Linked DNA regions of Homo sapiens: region 2 is linked to region 1. The links are contacts of gene promoters, found by promoter capture Hi-C in human tissues and cell types (Jung and others, 2019). All regions are on one chromosome and are shown on one strand. The core of a region is centred on a gene start or on the middle of the fragment in contact, and the rest is flanking DNA. Distances in the headings are between cores, read along the strand shown. Region 1 holds the start of ATP10B (ATPase phospholipid transporting 10B (putative)). Region 2 overlaps ATP10B (ATPase phospholipid transporting 10B (putative)).

What was found. Contacts are between HindIII fragments. The study calls those that stand out against the background at their distance.
Region 2: a fragment that was not itself captured here is called in contact with the fragment with the promoter of ATP10B in region 1 in 1 of the 25 tissues and cell types used here (dorsolateral prefrontal cortex).

Annotation. Positions count from the first base shown.
Region 1 is chr5:160,850,836-160,853,683 of GRCh38, reverse strand. It overlaps ATP10B (ATPase phospholipid transporting 10B (putative)), which reads left to right and starts at 1,473. Exons shown (of 26, transcript NM_025153.3): 1 at 1,473-1,743. The HindIII fragment of the contact is 6,864 bases long and covers 1-2,848 here.
Region 2 is chr5:160,650,706-160,653,553 of GRCh38, reverse strand. All of the region lies in intron 7 of ATP10B (ATPase phospholipid transporting 10B (putative)), which reads left to right. Among named protein-coding and RNA genes, the nearest start is that of MIR146A, 170 kb to the right of the region's middle. The HindIII fragment of the contact is 3,316 bases long and covers 1-2,848 here.

The DNA.
Region 1 (2,848 bases), core at 224-2,723:
AGGCAGTTTGGAAAATGAACATATTTGAGGACTCTCTATTCATTGGTTAGCATGAAAACCCAAGGGATGCTACAGACACATTTGTTCCTAAATTGCATGTGCCTCTCTCTTTACCAGGAAAGTGATAATGGGAAAGAGCTGGTCTTAGGAGAAAGACCAGTGATGGAAAATATACTAGTCTTAGGAGAAAGACAATGTGGTTTGAGGTCCCATGTTCACCACCAAATTCCTGTTTGGCTTTGAGCAATTGTATTCACTTCTCTGAGCTTCAGCATTCTCCTCCATGGCACAAGGGGGCTTCACTAAATAACCTCCAGTTACCCACTAGTGCAATATTCTGCAATTTAACCGTATCTGTGATTCTAGACCACACTCGTCCCTAGAAGCCAGAGCACTCTGAGTGAAGGGAAGTAAAGGAACAGGGACTTAAGCATTCTTCTCTTTAGCAGATGGAGAATTTTGAAATGCCAACTCGCTCTTTTAAAAATTCTAGACTGTCTAAAGCATAGGCAAATTTCATGTTCTTAAAAATTCCTAGCTTGTGTCTTACACACACAGCGATGCAGATTTTAGATGGTGTGGGTGTTTCTTCTCTTGTAAAATGTTTCCTATGTCCATGTTTCTTCTTGGTATTCTGATAAGATCTGTAGGTACATACAAAGTTCACAATTACTCTACCAACCAACCAAAATCTTATGTAAAGATTTTCATGAAGTTAGTATGTTCACTTCTTTCCAACACCTTTTATTCCTAAGTTTGGTAATATTTCTTTTTTTTACTACCCTTAAAATCAACTTACTGCTCATTCTACCTTCTCTTTTATTTATGGACCCATCAATAATTATCCATCAATACAGCAACTTGCTCATGACATTTATGCCAATTAGTTGAGTTGTAGGTAACTTAATAAAAGGATTATACATGAAAATCTCATTTTAGGGTATGAATCGAAGCTATCAATAAGCCCATTACTAATTCTGATTTTCTGTAAGTTTGCACCATTCACATAATCTGCCACTATAATATATTGGTCCCACTTTCCTTATTTTGTATAATCAAACAGTAATCAATAAAAACTATGACTACTGCAAAATGAGACTTCTGAAGCTTTGAGGGCAAATTCATCATCAGCATGCATATAAAAGTCACTGTAGAGAGTCTTTTCTTTCTTAAGTGCCCTTGAAACCCAGCAGCTGAATCATATTTCAGGCCCCCCAAAGAGAACTGCAAGGTTATAATTGTCTCACACTTAATTACATGCATTACCAAAGGTAGATGGACAAAGTCATTTTGTACCATGCGTAGAGAATAAAAATCACCATGAATTTTGATATTGCTGGCTCATTGATTCACAGGAAGTAGAAATTTATGCAAGAACCATGTCTAACAATGTAAATGTTCAGCCAAGTCGAAGAACACTGCCTTCACTGTTCTGGGACTCGGCCTCACATTCACAGACTTGCTATTCTTCTCTTTCACTCTTGGGCCTAGCGAGGCAGCTTATTTTTCCTTTTTCTTTCATTGGTCACAGTTATTTCTTTTCAGTGTGTCATCTTCTCTAAGTTTCTGAGGGAGTGTTAGCTTGAGGCCTTGCCTTGACATAATCAGATATAATCAGAAAAATGAAAAATTCCATAGGAAAGAGAACTATTTTAGCCAAGGTGTGCGAGAGAAATACCGCCACTTTCAAGCACTGTTTTCTTCTACTGGAGTCTGCTCAATAGGGACGTCAGCTTTGCTGGGGTAAGTAAAAGCATCCTGGCCTTAACCTATATAATGGGGGAGTAATTGCCTCTTAGAATCATCAAGTCTAAGTTCTGAATTAGGCCCAGGATATGACTACTTTTCTTTACACTGCATTTGAAATTTCATTTGGCTTTCTGGGTGCGAGATCCACATTTCTTTTCTAACAGAATGTTTTATTTTTCGTCAATTGATTTCATTATGATAAGCTGATGGCAAATGCTACTTCCTCACTCAACAGGGCTTGCAGTCTGAATGTGCCTGAATACATTTTATGATAAATAATATATCCTGCTATCCTGCATTCATCCAGTGCAGCCTGAGGAAGCAGATGGAGTTACAGCCTTCTTCTCAAAGCAGAAAGAAACTATAGCTTTGAGGAAGAGAATGAGATCATTACATGGCTTCCCAATTTCATCTTGATAAACTCTGAAGCTGCCATATTGCAGTAGTTTTCAACTATAGGTGGGAAGCTTGACTTTCCTTTGAGTTCAAAGGAGAAAACTGTTGCTTAAAGAAAAATGTGTTTTTTCCCTAAGTATGAGTTACTCCTTCCAGAAAAAAAATAAAAAAGCCCCATGCATGCAGGTCTGTGATGAATACATTTAGGACAGTCCTGTGGCCTGCTATTAAGGCTGGAGTGACACTATCCCTAACCCTAAGGTGAAAAGTAATGTTAAAAATAAAAATTATACTGAGCTGCTAGTTATTTTGCCTACAGGAGTGCATGCCTGTGTCTGGTGGAACTTGGTTTTTCTCTGAATTTGCCAGGCAATTTTCTCTGAATTTGCCAGGTAGGCAGAGGAGAATTTGAAAACTGTAGAGAGGAGCTTGACCTCCCAAAGCCAATCTGGCACTCTGCTACTTCCTTCTTCCACAGTTTCTTCTCTGTTTCCAGATCTTGCAAATGTACAGTCAAGACTGCTTGGAGTATTATTCCATTAACAGACATACAGTTACATTAAGCCATTAATCAGGCAGATCACAGATGTTGTTTTCTGTCTAGATGTTACTATAATTACTCTTAATAACACCCACTGAGTTTGTCATTTCATCCATTGATGACTTTTTAAAAAATTCTTGGAAAATTCATTTCTTACAGCCT
Region 2 (2,848 bases), core at 254-2,753, 200 kb after region 1:
ATATGTATGTATGTATATGTAATATATGTATATATACTACCTATGTATATATGTACATATGTATATATACTACCTATGTATGTATGTACATATGTATATATACTACCTATGTATGTATGTACATATGTATATATACTACCTATGTATGTATGTACGTATGTATATATACTACCTATGTATGTATGTACGTATGTATATATACTACCTATGTATGTATGTACGTATGTATATATACTACCTATGTATGTATGTACGTATGTATATATACTACCTATGTATGTATGTACGTATGTATATATACTACGTATGTATATATACTACATATTTGTATGTATATATGATATATAGTATATAATATATTGTATATATAATATATTGTATATATAATATATATTATGTATTTATAATATATATTTATGTATACATAATATATACATGTATATGTTATATATACACGTGTATATATAATATATACACTATATATACATAAATATATACATAATTATATACATAAATATAAATATATAAATATATAATATAAATATATATAATATATAAATATAAATATGTATGTATATATTATATATACATGTATATATAATATATTATATATACATGTATATATAATATATTATATATACATGTATATATAATATATTATATAATTATATATATATTATATATATTATATATAATTTATAATCTTTTTATAATATATATTATATATAATTAATATATAATATATTATATAATATATTATATATTTTTATATATATTTATATTTATGTATATAATATGTACATGTATAGTACATAAATATATGTATATATTATATATAAATTATATATGTATATATTATTTATACATATGTATTTATATATGTATATATAATATATACATATATAATTTTATTTTATAAAATATAAAATTCGTCAGGTCTGGTGGTGCACGCCTGTAGTCCCAGCTACTCAGGAGGCTGAGGTGGGAAGATTGTTTGAACCCGGGAAGTCGAGGCTACAGTGAGCTGTGATCGCACCACTGCACTGCAGCCTGGGTGACAGAGTGAGACCCTGTCTCGAATAAATAAATAAATAAATAAATAAATAAATAAATAAATAAATAAGAACCCTGACAGGTTTGTAAGGCTCAGCAGTTCTCTGTGTCTTGAGCTGGCCCAGCAGCTGCCCTGGAGGGAAATACAGCAAATTCTTAAAAGCAAGCAGGGCCTCAGTGGTTGTCTTTGCAGCCAGCAGGACCCATATGCCCCTCTCCACAGCCCCTCTTCCTCCAACTGAAGAAGAGAGCCCAGGGGACAAGTAGCTAGAAAGAGCAGGGTCACCTTTTCATGAAAAGAGGAAGATGGGGACAAAAGTCCTGTGCTCAGCAGGAAAGGAGACACAGCAGGAGGAAGGGACATTTCAGGAGGGAGGTGGCTAGGAAGCCCCAACAGAGGAACAAGAGTCAAACTTCACCATTGCTGGGGCCCGGCAGGTGTGATTAAACAGGCAGCAGGGACTCCGAGGCATTACAGAAGGATCATTAGTGCTCAGACCCCACTGCCAGTCATATCTGAAATGAGTTTGGATTTAGAGACCCACCACTGAGCTGAGTGGTGTGGATCAGGAGTGAAGCACATGACTTAATCAGGGGCATGAAAGCAGCTGACAAATTACAGCATGATTTGTCATCATCTTGGAGCTCAGCAAGTGTTTGTCCCTGAAAGAATCAATACCTGGAGGGAAAAGGGCCATATTTTTAGAAACTCCTGGATGGGTAATTTATTTCAAGTGAGTAGAGAGTTTATTTATGTTGGCACCCCCTCAAATCCAATGGACAGTATATTTACACGAAGCCAGAAAATGCTATCATTTCTTTTAATCAATTTACCCCTTTGAACAGCTGTACCTTGAAGCTTTCAGTGATAAACTCACGCCCTTTGCTAAAAGCTCTACCCAGGAAACCATCTCCAATCCCACCTTTACCACTGCTGCCTTCTGTTTGGGTGGAATGTTACATGTTTCAACACTTTAACACATAGATTCTGTTTTTTGAGGCACAATTAAGATGGGCAGGGCAGGTGATGTTAGCCCCATTCTACAGATGAAGAAACGAAGGCTCATGAGTTGAACGTAGGATTAGTCAATGTAGAGGAGAGTCAGAAAGCAAGATCTCCCCACCTCAAGTTGTGTTTCATCCCCATTGGACTAAAAGAGTTTGTACAACAGAAATGCCTTTAAAAAAAATACTTAGCTACAAGACTGTTCACCAGGAAGCAATGTGCTGAGTAAGTAAGGAGTAGAGGGTCTGCAGGTGAACTTGAATTAAAATCCCAGCCCATGAGATTTAAATAGGTTTGACCATGGGGAGCCTTCTTTACCTTTCAGTCACAGATTTCCCATCTCTAAAGAAAGGCAAATTAAAGCTCCTACTTCATAGAATGACGGTAAGCTTGAAAATAAATAATAAAGTTCTTATTACAGTGTCTGGCAGAAATAAGTGTCCAGTAAATGCTATTTATTTTGCTCTATTAGCTACTATTTTCACAGCATTTTTATAACAGCAAAACAAATTGAAACACTATACCTATTAAATGGTGAAACGATTAAAGGAAATATGGTCAATTTTGCTCCTGGACCAAACTGAGGGTTGGGCTGCTATTTCTCGTGGCCCAATAACAAGATGCAGATGAATTGGGGAGGAAGAGAGTTTTTATTTCTCTAACCAGTTACAGGGAGAAGGCCTGGAAGTTATTGCCAGACCAACTCAAAGTTACAAAGTTTTCCAGAGTTTATATACCTTCTAAGCTATATGCCTACGTGTAAGTGTGCATTCATCTGAAGACATAAGT